4 separate regions of the Homo sapiens genome follow, and regions 1, 2 and 4 are each linked to region 3. Evidence: promoter capture Hi-C in human tissues and cell types (Jung and others, 2019). All regions are on one chromosome and are shown on one strand. The core of a region is centred on a gene start or on the middle of the fragment in contact, and the rest is flanking DNA. Distances in the headings are between cores, read along the strand shown.

Region 1 (3,167 bases), core at 206-2,705, 36 kb before region 3:
TTGGAAGTGGGGCCTAATGGGAGGTGTTTGGGTCATGGGAGCAGATCCCTCATAAATAGATTAATGCTCTGTCTGGGAGGGTGGGTGCGGGGTACGAGTTCTCACTTTATTAGTTCCTGTGAAAGCTGGTTGTTAAAAAGAACCTAGCACCTCCCCTTTCACTTCAGTGGCAAAGTACACTCCAATACTTTCACCCTGATGAAGTCCTATTCTTTAGTTTTATACTTACTCTTATTCTTGTTCCCGTTCTTATGCCACCCTCTACCTCTCCCCAGCTATCTCTACCACACTATCAATCTCACTCTCTCCTAGCCATTTCTAATCCTTCTTTAACAAACAATTGCTGGCTTTGCATTTCTCTTTCCTCCAAAACTGCCAAGGCCTTGACTTACTGCTGAAAAAGGAGGACTCTGTATATTTTTAAATGAGCAGTGTTGTTTTTACCTAAATAAATCTGGCCTGGTGTATGACAACATAAAAAAACTCAAGGATAGAGCCCAAAAACTCGCCAACCAAGCAAGTAATTACTTGCTTGGGCACTCTCTAATTTGATGTCCTGAGTCCTCCCAATTCTTAGTCCTTTAATACCTATTTTTCTCCTTCTCTTATTCAGACCTTGTGTCTTCCGTTTAGTTTCTAAATTCATACAAAACCATATCCAGGCCATCACCAATCATTCTATATGACAAATGCTCCTCCTAACAACCCCACAATATCACCCCTTACCATAAAATCTTCCTTCAGCTTAATCTCTCCCACTCTAGGTTCCCACGCCAACCCTAATCCCGCTGGAAGCAGCCCTGAGAGACATCGCCCATTATCTCTCCATACCACCCCTAAAAATTTTCGTTGTCTCAACACTTCAGCACTATTTTATGTTATTTTTCTTATTAATATAAGAAGACAGGAATGTCAGGCCTCTGAGTCCAAGCTAAGCCATCATATCCCCTGTGACCTGCACATATACATCCAGATGGCCTGAAGCAAGTGAAACATCACAAAAGAAGTGAAAATGGCTGGTTCATGCCTTAACTGATGACATTGCACCATTGTGATTTGATCCTGCCCCACCTTAACTGATCAATTAACCTTGTGAAATTCCTTCTCCTGGCTCAGAAGCTCCCCCACTGAGCACCTTGTGACCCCCACCCCTGCCCACAAGACAACAACCCCCTTTGACTGTAACTTTCCACTAACCACCCAAATCCTATAAAACTGCCCCACCCCTATCTTCCTTGCTGACTATCTTTCCGGAGTCAGCCCGCCTGCACCCAGGTGATTAAAAAGCTTTATTGCTCAAACAAAGCCTGTTCGGTGGTCTCTTCACACAGATGCGCATGACACTATGGTTTTGCTTTCTGAGGTTTCAGTTACTTGCAGTTGACCATGTTCCAAAAAATATTAAGTAAATTACCCAGAAATAACAATTCATAAGTTTTAAATTGTACTCCATTCTGAGTAGCATGGCGAAATCTTATGCTGTCTGGCTCTGTCCCATTGGGTACATGAATGATTTCTTTGTCCCGTGTATCCACGCTGTTTAAGGTGGTGGTACCTGCCTGTGAGTCACTTGGCAGCCCTGTTATTTAACAGTTGGACAGTCACAGTATCTCAGTGTTTGTGTTAAGGGAACCCTTCTTTTACTTAAGAATGGCCCCAAAGTGCAAGAGTAGTGATGCTTGCAATTCAGAGATGCCAAAGAGCAGCTGGAAAGTGTTTCCTTTAATTGAAAAGGTAAGTTTTTTACTTAATAAGAAAAAAAATTATGTGCTGATGTTACCATGATCTATAGTAAAAATGAATCTTGTAGCTGTGAAATTGTGAAAAAGGAAGAAGAAATTTATGCCAGTTTTGCTGTCACACCTCATCCCGCAAGGGGTGCAATGCATTATGGCTGCCATGTGTGATATTACGAGATAAAAAATAGTTCATGGGTGTCAACCTTCCACCCTGCGCTCAGCTCTGCTAGGTATTCTAAGGATTTACAGAGGCTAAGAAATCTCATACAGAACATAATATGTACACATAGAAAGCACAGAGAAACAATGACACACTAGCATTGAGAACTCAGTGGAATGTTACTGACAAGTGCAGTAGGAGTTCAGCAAAGAAGAGGAGGCCACTATAGGCAGGTGGAGTCAGAAAAGGGGAATGACCTTGTGGGGTCACTGGAATTTGGATCTGTGGAGAGAAGGGGAGGAGAGTTTCTAAAGAGAAGAGTGACAAGACCAGAAGCAGGTACAAAACCATGAACCTGGTTTGTTTAGAGGACAGTGAGGAGATCTTTCTGGTTGACTGTTTAGAGGTGGGAAGGCCAAACCGAGGAATTATGTCTGACAGAAGGGAAGAAATGACCATGGTGGCCTTCTCAGACTCTGTGGGAAAGGCCTCTACCTATCCAGTGAAAGTGTCTACCCAGACCAAGAGGTATTTTAGTTTCCTGACTCGGGGCATGTGAGTAAAATCAATTTGCCAGTCCTGGGCAGGGGCAAATTCTTGAGCTTGATGTGTAGGGAAGAGAGGGGGCCTGAGAAATTCCTGAGGAGTAGTAGAATAGTAGATGGAACATTGAGAAGTGATTTTTTGAGGATGGATTTTTACGATGGAAAGGAAATGAGAGGTTTTAAGAGGCAGGCTAGTGGCTTGTAACTTACATGGAAGAGGTTATGAAATGACGACAGAATAAAACAGGCCTGTGAGGCTGGAAGGAGATATTTTCCTTGGTCCAAGAACCATTTGCTTTGTGTGGGAAGAGATTGATAGGTGGAAGTTTCAGTAGGAGAGTAGGTGGGAGTGACTGATGAGAAGGAGAAAAACTGGCCACGAGGGACAGAAGTTGGGACACTAGCTGATTCTTTAGCTACCTTATCAGCATAAGCATTGCCCTGAGTGATGGGATCTGACACCTTTTGATGGCCCTTGCAGTGAATGACTCCAGCTTCTTTTGGAAGTAAAGCGGCCTTGAGAAGAGTTTTTATTAAAGAGGCATTAATGATGGAGGACCCTCGCATAGCGAGGAAACCTCTTTCAGCCCATATAACAGCATGGTGATGCAGGATATGGAAGGCATATTTAGAGTCAATATAAATATTGACATGTAGTCCCTTTGCAAGAGTGAGGGCCCAAATTAAGGCAATGAGTTCGGCTTGCTGAGAGGTAGTGGAGGG
Region 2 (3,434 bases), core at 181-2,680, 60 kb after region 3:
GTTGATTATTCAAACTTACTTTGATATTTGGTACCTGAATACATTTTGGTTACAGATACACTGGGACCAAAATGATGTTGACTTAATTCCAAATGGGATCTCCATACCTGTGGACCAAACCAACAAGTAAGTTTTGACAGCTAGAATATCTGTTTTGAATATACTGTACATAAAATGTTGTATCACTATTCTTTTAAAATGTATTTTTAAATATGGTTCACACCTGTAATCCCAGCAATTTGGGAGGCTGAGGTGGGTGGATCACTTGAGGTCAGGAGTTCAAGGCCAACCTGGCCAACATGGCGAAACCCCGTCTCTACTACAAAAATTAGCCAGGTGTGGTGGCACATGCCTGTAGTCTCAGCTACTAAGGAGGCTGAGGATTGCTTGAACCCAGGAAGTGGAGGTTGCAGTGAGCCGGGATTGCGCAACTGCACTCAAGCCTGGGCAACAGAGTGAGACTGTGTCTCAAAAAAAAAAAAAAAAAAAAAAAGCATTTTAGCTTCTCAGGTGATTGTTTTAGCTCCTAATCTTTTAGAAAAAAGAAGCTTTTAAGATAAAAGAAAAGGAGAAAGAATTCAGGGTTCAATATTTCCTTTGTAGCTCTTTTTACTATTTATTCATTTAGCAAATATTTTTGAGCCCCTATTCTGTACCAGACTCTATTCTAGGTGCTGGAGATACAGTAGTCAAAAAGACAGACAAAATTTGGAGCTTAAATTCCAGTGGGGCAGAAAGACAATACACAAATGAATCATTATTATTTTTAATAGAGATGGAGTCTTGCCATGCTGCCCAGGCTGGTCTCGAATTCCTGAGCTCAGGCAGTCCTCACACCTCAGCCTCCCAAAGTACTGGGATTACAAGGGTGAGCCACCGCACCTGGCCACAAATGAATTATTATGTAATATAATGTCAGATAAGGATGAGCACTCTGAAGAAAATTAAAACTGATTAAGAAACTAGGGAGTTCCAGGTGGTGGTATGCTGGAGCTCACTAGTACCAGCTTGTGAGAGCTGATTGTTAAATTTTCAAAAATGTTAAGAGTTTATTATCAAAGTATTAGTAGCTGAAAATCAGCCACAGTGGGAATATTAACACCACAGAAATTCGCCAATGCTGCAAATGTGTGTCCCCTCCCCTCCCACTCCTTTTCAGAGAGCTGGTTGTTAGATATTTACCAGCACACCAATGGTTACAGGGGAAGGCAGACAAGAGTTGATTTAGATAGGCTAGTCCACAAAGGCTGCCCAAAGTGTGGGAGACAATCATGTCTCTGATGGAAATGCCTCCAGTAGCAACCCTGCCATCAGGAAATTAATCATTTAGTAGAAATTACATCCTGTAGTATAAGACAGACCTTGCAGGAATAATTTTCACAAAGTGACATGTGTTGTGAGAGGGGACAAGCAAAGGAACAAAAGGATCAACCCTGAGAAAGTCTTACTTATATTGAAATCTAATGGATGGTAGAAGTTATCAGGTAAAGAAGAAATGCTGCATTCTGTGGCCTAACTACAAAAGAGAGACAAGACCTATGAACGGGGCCAGAAGTGAAAATGGAAGTGGGAGCTGGGCACCATGGTGCATACTTGCAGTCTCACCTACTCAGGAGGCTGTGGCGGGAGGTTCGCTTGAGGCCAGGAGTCCAAGTCCAGCCTGGGCAACACAGGGAGACCCCATCTCTTAAAAAAAAGAAAGAAAAAGAAAGGAAAGAGAAAGAAAGAAGAAAGAAAGAAAAGGGAAGGGAAAGGGAAAGGGAAGGGAAGGGAAAGGAAAGAAAGAAAGAAAGAAAATGGAAGTGGGAAGAGGCCCCTTGCTGAGACTGGCAAGGTCAGATAATTGAGGGAGGAGCTAGGCTTGGGAAGGCCTGTTGATCCCTGCTAAGGAGGTTTGGAATTTACCCCAAGGGCAATGGGAAGCCTTTGAAAGACTTTAAGCAAGAGAATGACATATTCAGATTCATGTTTTAAAAAAATCCTCCTGACTGCAGTGAGGAAAGTGAGCCAAATAGTTTTAAACCTTCTGATTATATTTTCTAAATTTCTTTCTTCTAGCTGACCAGGTTTTGGTCACAATACAACATTCTTGTGCTATATAGAAGTAATTTACTTTTCCTTCTCAATAGAAATAGTAAAAAGAACAAAGTATAAAATCTTTTAATCATTGGCCTTTTCCTTCCTTTCTTTTTTTTTTTTTTTTTTTGCTTCCCTCAAGGAGAGACTATGTTTCTAAGTATATTGATTACATTTTCAACGTCTCTGTAAAAGCAGTTTATGAGGAATTTCAGAGAGGATTTTATAGAGTCTGTGAGAAGGAGATACTTAGACATTTCTACCCTGAAGAACTAATGACAGCAATCATTGGAAATACTGATTATGACTGGAAACAGTTTGAACAGGTAGGTGATACCTAAAGTGCCCCAATTTTTCCGAACAACTTCTATATATTCCACCCCACTCAAATCATTTTTCTCCCTCTTTCTCTCAAGAATTCAAAGTATGAGCAAGGATACCAAAAATCACATCCTACTATACAGTTGTTTTGGAAGGCTTTCCACAAACTAACCTTGGATGAAAAGAAAAAATTCCTCTGTAAGTACTGTGGTACTAGATGGACACATAATTATGTATCTTTTAAAAAGGTACAGTCTTGTTTAGAATGAAGCCATTGAAGTGGCCTCATTGTCTGGGGTGACACCCAAGGTTCTTTGTCTCACAGCCATGGAGATCAAGGACATGGACACACACAAAGGGTGAGGTATAGAGCAGAAACTTAATAGGCGAAAAGAGAATAGCTCTCTGCTACAGAGAGGGGTCCCAGAAAAATGAGTTGCTGATCTGTGGTGAAATGCAGGGTTTTTTATAGATGAGCTAGTGAGGAGGTGGTGTCTGATCTACATAGGGCATGAAAAACGAGTTAGGACCAGGTGTACCATCCGCATAGGGCACGAATCTCTGGCAGCCCCTACCCCAATCTTTGATTATACAGGTGGGTAGCTACTCCATGGTGCTTCTTTCTTACTGTGCATGTGCTAAAAAAGGGGGGAGGTGGAACCCCCATGGTGGACATGCCTGGTCCCAGGTTGCCCTTTCTATTGGTGGAGCTGCTGGCATTCCCCCGTGCTAGCTTCCAGCCTTCTTATCTATGTTTGCAGCCCGATATTCCAGGCTGCTCTTTGTTAGAAAAGAAGTGATTTCTTGGACTGCTTTTTGTTAGAAGGGAAGTTCTGCTGAGGACTCTTTTGCCCTCACTATCTGCCTAAAATAATTTTCTATCTCTGTATCACCATTCTTGCAGGTGGGTCACATGTGTTAGTGGCAGAGCAAGGATGAGAACCCAGGCTCCCTACCTTCTAGACCAGCATTCTTTCTCTTACTCAAGCCTGTTTCTTTTTTTTTTTAAGTAGAGATTTGCTAATTTACTACTTTTT
Region 3 (3,204 bases), core at 472-2,971:
GAGTTGAGATCACGCCATTGCACTCCAGCCTGGGCATCAAGAGCGGAAACTCTATCTCAAACAAACAAACAAATAAATAAATAAAAATCAGTGCTCAATCCTTACCTTGCTCCACAAGAAATTGACAGAGTTGATCCTTCCTTTATTCGTTACTTGCTCTGTCTATAACTCCTCCTCCTGGTTTTCCTCCTATGATCAGTCCTCTAGCCTCTGCTATACTGTCACCACATTCACCCCCTGGGTGTTCTCATTCAGCCATCTGGCTTTAAGCATCACCTCTACACTGATGGCTCCCAATTTTCTGACTACACCCAAGCTTCTCTCTACAACTCCAAAACAGTTTATCCTATTGCCTTCTTGATTAACAAGCATCTTACAGTTATCATTACCAATCTGTATTCCAGACACACATAGCTTAAACCTGCACCTTCCTCAGGGTTTCCCAGTCCAGTAGAGTTTACCTTGGAGTAACCCCTAAAGCCAACCCTGGAGTAATCCCTAATCCCTTTTCTTCTTTCCCCCCAATTTCTAATCCATCATCAAATCTGTGGACTCTTACTTTCAAAACATGTCTTGAATCTAATAACTTCTCCTCTCTTCCCTTCTAGGATATCACCTGACCTGAACTCTGAAGTAGTCTCTGCTAACTGGCTTTCTGCTTCCATTTTTGTCCTATTATTTTTCACACAGCAGCCAGATGAATCTTTAAAAACTGAAGTCAGATCATGGCTCTTCTCTATTCAAAACCTTCCAACTGCTTCTTTTCATCCTCTGCCCTCAGGTGTGATCACGACTCATTCCCTCATTTCCCATGTCCCCTCAGCTCTCTGCACAAATATCACTTCATCAGAGAGATCTTCCCTAATATCATCTCAAATACCAGTGCCTTCCGCCTCCACCCTCTGGTTCCTGTTGTATTTTTCGTTGCCCCTTGATATTACACTATGTGTTTATCTGTTTATGTTCTCTTTCCCTCAGGAGAATGTAAACGCATCAAGAGGATCTTGTCTTTCACTAATTGTATTTTCAGGCGGGGCCCAGAGGCTCACGCCTGTAATCCCTGCACTTTGGAAAGCTGAGGGGTGGATCACTTGAGGTCAGGAGTTCGAGACCAGCCTGGCCAACATGGTGAAACCCCATCTTTACTAAAAATACAAAAATTAAGTCGGGCGTCGTGGCGCATGCCTGTAATCCCACCTACTCGGGAGGCCGAGGCAAGAGAATCAGCTTGAACCCGTGAGGTGGAGGTTGCAGTGAGCCGAGATGGTGCCACTGCACTCCAGCCTGAGCAGCAGAGCGACACTCCATCTCAAACAAACAAACAAACAAACAAACAAAAAACAAACATATTTTCAATGCCAAAAAAGGTCTGGAATGAGGTGGGCACTCAGATGCTTTATTAACCACTCTAGGTATTATTCTAACACTTTATGTGCCTATTAAATTATCCCGACATATTAGATTTGCTGAATTGCAGTCCATATTTCGTAGATATGATAGCTGAAGCACGGAATCATTAGGTAACTTGCCCAAAGTGGCATTCACGACTCATAAATGGCTTAGGATGTAAACTCAGTTTTATTCCCTGGGACGCCCTCTCTGCTCTTCAGCACTTGAAGTTCAGGCAGCGAGAGTTGACATGGGGCCAGGGCTGCGCCCCTGGGGCGGGTTGAAGACAGGGTGAGTCTCTTGATATTCAGGAAATCATCGCGCACCCAGTCACCAGCGTTCGGGAGCCTGTCGCAGCGGGACCGACGGAATCCGGAGCAGGCGACAGGGCGCAGAAGCGGGATGTACTTCTGTTGGGGCGCCGACTCCAGGGAGCTGCAGCGCCGGAGGACGGCGGGCAGCCCCGGGGCTGAGCTACTGCAGGCGGCCAGCGGGGAGCGCCACTCTCTGCTGCTGCTGACCAACCACAGGGTCCTCTCGTGCGGAGACAACAGCAGGGGTCAGCTGGGCCGCAGGGGCGCGCAGCGCGGGGAGCTGCCAGGTGAGCGGGGGGCCCCAGGTGCAGGGTGTGAGGACCCCAGTACATGGGCGCGGGGGCTTGGGTACCGGGCGCAGGGAACCGGGTGCGGAGCGCTGGGACCCGGGTGAGGGGCGCGGGGGCCCAGGTGCAGGGAGCGGCTCAGATGCTGGGCGCCGCGGGCCAGGCAGGGAGGGGTGCTGGGAGCCTTGGATTCCTCGGGGCCCGAAGAGCCACAGGAACCAGGAAAATGGTGCCCTGTGCTACCGAAGAGCAACTTCCTCAGTTTCGTTTTCCCAACGCCCCTCGGATTTGTTTCGGTTTCCAATTCAAGTTCAAAGCGAAACTGAGAGCCGAAACTAACCTGGTCAGCGCTGCTCTGGAAAGAGATGTGGTCCCTCCGGCTTGCCTTGCAGATAAATCCTCGCCTGCGCGGTTCTACCTGGAGAAGGCAGCCTGACCTTACAAACGTGGTTTGTGGGTCAGACACCTGTATCTCCCTTAGAAATACACTGGGGCATTAAAAAATATATATATATAAAAATATATATATAAAATATATAAATATATATAATATATAAATATATACAAATATATAATATATAAATATATAATATATAAATATATATAATATATAAATATATAAATATATAACATATAAATATATATAATATATAAATATATATATAACATATAAATATATATAATATATAAATATATATATAACATATAAATATATATAATATATAAATATATATATAGCATATAAATATATATAATATATAAATATATATATAATATATAAATATATATAATATATAAATATATATAATATATAAATATATATATAATATATAAATATATATAATATATAAATATATATAATATATAAATATATATATAATATATAAATATATATAATATATAAATATATATAATATATAAATATATATATAATATATAAATATATATAATATATAAATATATATAATATATAAATATATATATAATATATAAATATATATAATATATAAATATATATAATATATAAATATATATAATATATAAATATATATATAATATATAAATATATATATAATATAAATATATATATAATATATAAATATATAATATATAAATATATATAATATATAAATATATAATATATAAATATATATAATATATAAATATATAATATATAAATATATATATAATATATAAATATATATATAATATAT
Region 4 (3,352 bases), core at 120-2,619, 35 kb after region 3:
CTTCAGGGAACCTGATATAAAATGAGGAGGATGGCTCTCATGTACTATATCAGGGGTATTTGGGATGGAAGGAGTGATGGAGTCTCATCAATAGGTTTCAGAATGGCTAAGTGATTATTCTAATTGGAACATGGTGGAGTGAAACCCTTAATTTCACAGCTTGCTTCTCACAATCCTCTGTATCTAATATATCCTGGGTCTGTTCCCTGATCCTATTTTTACCACAGATAACTACGTGTCTCGAGGATGATCTGCTCAGAGCTCTTCCATGCCATTCTCCACACCAAGAAGCTTTATCAGTTTTCCTCCTGCTCCCAGAATGTCCTGTGATGCATGATTCTAAGAACTGGAAGAACCTGGTGGTTCCATTTGCAAAGGCTGTGTGTGAAATGAGTAAACAATCTTTGCAAGTCCTAAGTAAGTTTTATGTCACTTTATCTGTACTCTCAATATAGAGTCACTCTCTGAAGTAGACGTTGTAGCAAATTTTGAATAGAAGATTTCAAAATAGACAAGTATTTGAGAACATGGCATGTAAATTATTGAAAAGATTAATAATCTAAAGCTATTATAATTATTAGTTCTATCATACAAAGCAGGTGTAGTTTTTAGACTTGGATGTGGCTTTGACATCAGAGTTTGGTAGCTATAAGGTATTCATTTTAGACTTGGATGTGGCTTTGACATCAGAGTTTGGTAGCTATAAAGTATTCAATCAAGATCAATCCATACTTTAAAATTTTTTGCTCATGTTATTTTGAAACTTTTGACATTTTGACCAGATGATGAAAAACAAATGTTAAACTTTGTATTATTATTATTTACTTTATTCAGTACTGTATTATGTCCTTTTATAGCTTTTAGCGTATATTGAAAGTTCAGTGATTACCCAATAACCCAATGGGGTCCAGATGTTTATATACCCTTCTACATAGAGGAGAGGGGAGGTAGGGAATGTAGACAATTCTTTTGAGGAGTAGTAAATGACTATTAGGGAGAATGAGTGACCCAGGAAACAGAAATTAACTTGTAAATGATTCTCCTTGGAATTGGAATGAGCCTGAGAGGCAGGCATTATCTTTTGAAAAAATACATCTAGGTGTGGTTACATTCCTCAGTCGTCTTGTCTGTGACAGATAATGTAATTTCAGAGATGGCATGAAAGGCAATTCTGTTCTCTGTAGTGGGTCCAGTCTTAAGGTAGATAAGGGAGTGTCAGAGAAAAGCCTTTTCCAGCATCTGCTGACCTTCAAGGGCCTTTAACTTAAAATAATCAGCATACCAGGGTGCCATATTTTGGGGCAAATTTCCCTGGACTCCTTCACTTAAGAGGTACAGAGGGCCAGGCATTGTGGCTTACACCTTAATCCTAGCATTTTGGGAGACTAAGGTGAGAGAATCTTTTGAGCCCAGGAGGTTGAGGGCAGCCTGGGCAACATAGTGAGACCCCGACTCTACCAATTTTTTTTTTTTTAAATCAGCCATGCATGGTGGCACACACCTGTGGTCCCAGCTACTTGGAAGCTGAGGCAGGAGGATCACTTGAGCCCAGGAGTTTAAGTCTGTATTACTGGAAAGGGGTCCCAATCCAGATCCCAAACAAGGGTTCTTAGATCTCACACAAGAAATAATTCAGGGAGCGTCTATAAAGTGAAAGTAAGTTTACTAAGAAAGTAGAAGAATAAAAAATGGCTACTCCACAGGCAGAGCAGCTCCTTGGGGCTGCTGGTTGCCCATTTTTATGGTTATTTCTTGATTATGTGCTGAAGAAGGGGTGGGTTATTCATACCTCCCCTTTTTAGATCATATAGGGTAACTTCCTGGCATTGCCATGGCATTTGTAAACTGTCACGGTGCTGGTGAAAGTACAGCAGTGAGGACGACCAGAGGTCACTCTCATTGCCATCTTGGTTTTGGTGGATTCTAGCCGGCTTCTTTACTGCAAGCTGTTTTATCATCAAGGTCTTTATGACCTGTATCTTGTGCTGACCTCCGATCTCATTCTGTCATCTAGAACGCCTAACTGTCTGGGATGGTAGCCCAGTAGGTCTCAGCCTTATTTTACCCAGCTCCTATTCAAGATGGAGTTGCTCTGGTTCAAATGCCTCTGACAGCAGCAGTAAGCTATCAGCATACCACTGCACTCCAGCCTGGGTGACAGAGCAATACCCTATCTCAAAGAAAAACAAAAAGGTACAGAGGATATGTACAATGAAATGTAAGCCACCCAGTTCCCCTCCCAGAAGTGGCTACAGGTTCTAGTTTCTTGTGTAACGTTTGAAAGATATTCTATATATAGAAACATACAAATGTATTATTTCTGTTTTTAATGGTAGCAAACTATTAAAGTTCCTCTTCCACAACTTGCTTTCTCCCACTAAACAGGATATCATGGAGATCATTCCAATAGAGAATCTATAGAACTGCCTCATTCTATTTAATGGCTGAAGAATGTTCTATTGTGAAGCATTTCATTGTACATATATAAATTCACACATGCAGGAAACATTCCAGAAAGCAAAATCACTGAGTCAAATTGTATGTACATTTTTATTTTGAGATATTTTGCCAAATGACCCTCCACAGAGTCAAGGTCATCATATCACCCAATTTGAAGTGGTTGTCATTCACACTGTAGTCTGTATAAATTTCACCCCTAGAGTTGGGAAACCTGTCCGTACTGACAAAGGATGTATCAATTTACACTTCATCAATGAATATGAGAATATCGGTCTGCATACTTTCCAACCATGTTATCAAACTTTGATCTTTGCCATTCTGAGGAAAAAAAACTTTTAATTTTAAGTTGAATTTTTCTTATTAAGAGTGAGATTGTGCCGGTTTTTGTATATCACAGATCACTTTGTATATCATATTCTGTGAACTCTTACTATAGGACCACCAGGTCTGATTTCCTGTTGCACAGTAACAGACCAATACACTGAAAAAGTAGGAGTTGCAGCAGAGAAAGAATTTAATAATTGTAGGGAAACCAAATGAGGAGATGAGAGGAAACCTCAAATATGCCTCTTCAAGAGGTTTGCAGATGGGGTTTTTAAGGGGTCTGGACACAGGTGATGGCCTAAAGTGTGGTGATCACTGATTGGTTGAGAAGTGAGGGGTGAAGTCAGGGATAGGGAGATGAAGAAACTGCATTCCTGCACTGAGTCAGTTCCTTGGTGAGGGTCTTCAGACCAGTTGGTGTCAGCCATTCTGCTGGAATTCAGGATCTGCAAAATGCCTTAAATAATTATTGGGTAAAAAGGTCCAGTGTCAGAGATTTTATCCATAGGAACAATGGGAGAGCAGGTGCTCAGTGTGCTGTGTGACTCAGGGTTAGTTATCAGCTCAG

Evidence for each region. Contacts are between HindIII fragments. The study calls those that stand out against the background at their distance.
Region 1: a fragment that was not itself captured here is called in contact with the fragment with the promoter of HERC6 in region 3 in 4 of the 25 tissues and cell types used here (adrenal gland, heart left ventricle, mesendoderm cells and 1 more).
Region 2: a contact is called between a fragment that was not itself captured here and the fragment with the promoter of HERC6 in region 3, in 3 of the 25 tissues and cell types used here (heart left ventricle, ovary and stomach).
Region 4: a fragment that was not itself captured here is called in contact with the fragment with the promoter of HERC6 in region 3 in 1 of the 25 tissues and cell types used here (bladder).

The regions. Positions count from the first base shown.
Region 1 is chr4:88,341,870-88,345,036 of GRCh38, forward strand. No RefSeq gene overlaps it. Among named protein-coding and RNA genes, the nearest start is that of HERC6, 35 kb to the right of the region's middle. The HindIII fragment of the contact is 5,342 bases long and covers 1-3,167 here.
Region 2 is chr4:88,437,656-88,441,089 of GRCh38, forward strand. HERC6 (HECT and RLD domain containing E3 ubiquitin protein ligase family member 6) reads left to right here. Exons shown (of 23, transcript NM_017912.4): 20 at 56-126; 21 at 2,219-2,402; 22 at 2,493-2,595. The region is part of intron 1 of LOC102723458 (a long non-coding RNA gene); the gene reads right to left. Among named protein-coding and RNA genes, the nearest start is that of HERC5, 18 kb to the right of the region's middle. The HindIII fragment of the contact is 9,680 bases long and covers 1-3,434 here.
Region 3 is chr4:88,377,131-88,380,334 of GRCh38, forward strand. HERC6 (HECT and RLD domain containing E3 ubiquitin protein ligase family member 6) reads left to right here and starts at 1,722. Exons shown (of 23, transcript NM_017912.4): 1 at 1,722-1,990. The coding sequence starts at 1,792. RefSeq lists a silencer at 1,945-2,134 and an enhancer at 2,145-2,474. The HindIII fragment of the contact is 12,273 bases long and covers 1-3,204 here.
Region 4 is chr4:88,412,850-88,416,201 of GRCh38, forward strand. It overlaps HERC6 (HECT and RLD domain containing E3 ubiquitin protein ligase family member 6), which reads left to right. Exons shown (of 23, transcript NM_017912.4): 12 at 228-417. LOC102723458 (a long non-coding RNA gene) reads right to left here. Exons shown (of 5, transcript XR_938976.3): 5 at 2,532-3,230. Among named protein-coding and RNA genes, the nearest start is that of HERC6, 36 kb to the left of the region's middle. The HindIII fragment of the contact is 6,889 bases long and covers 1-3,352 here.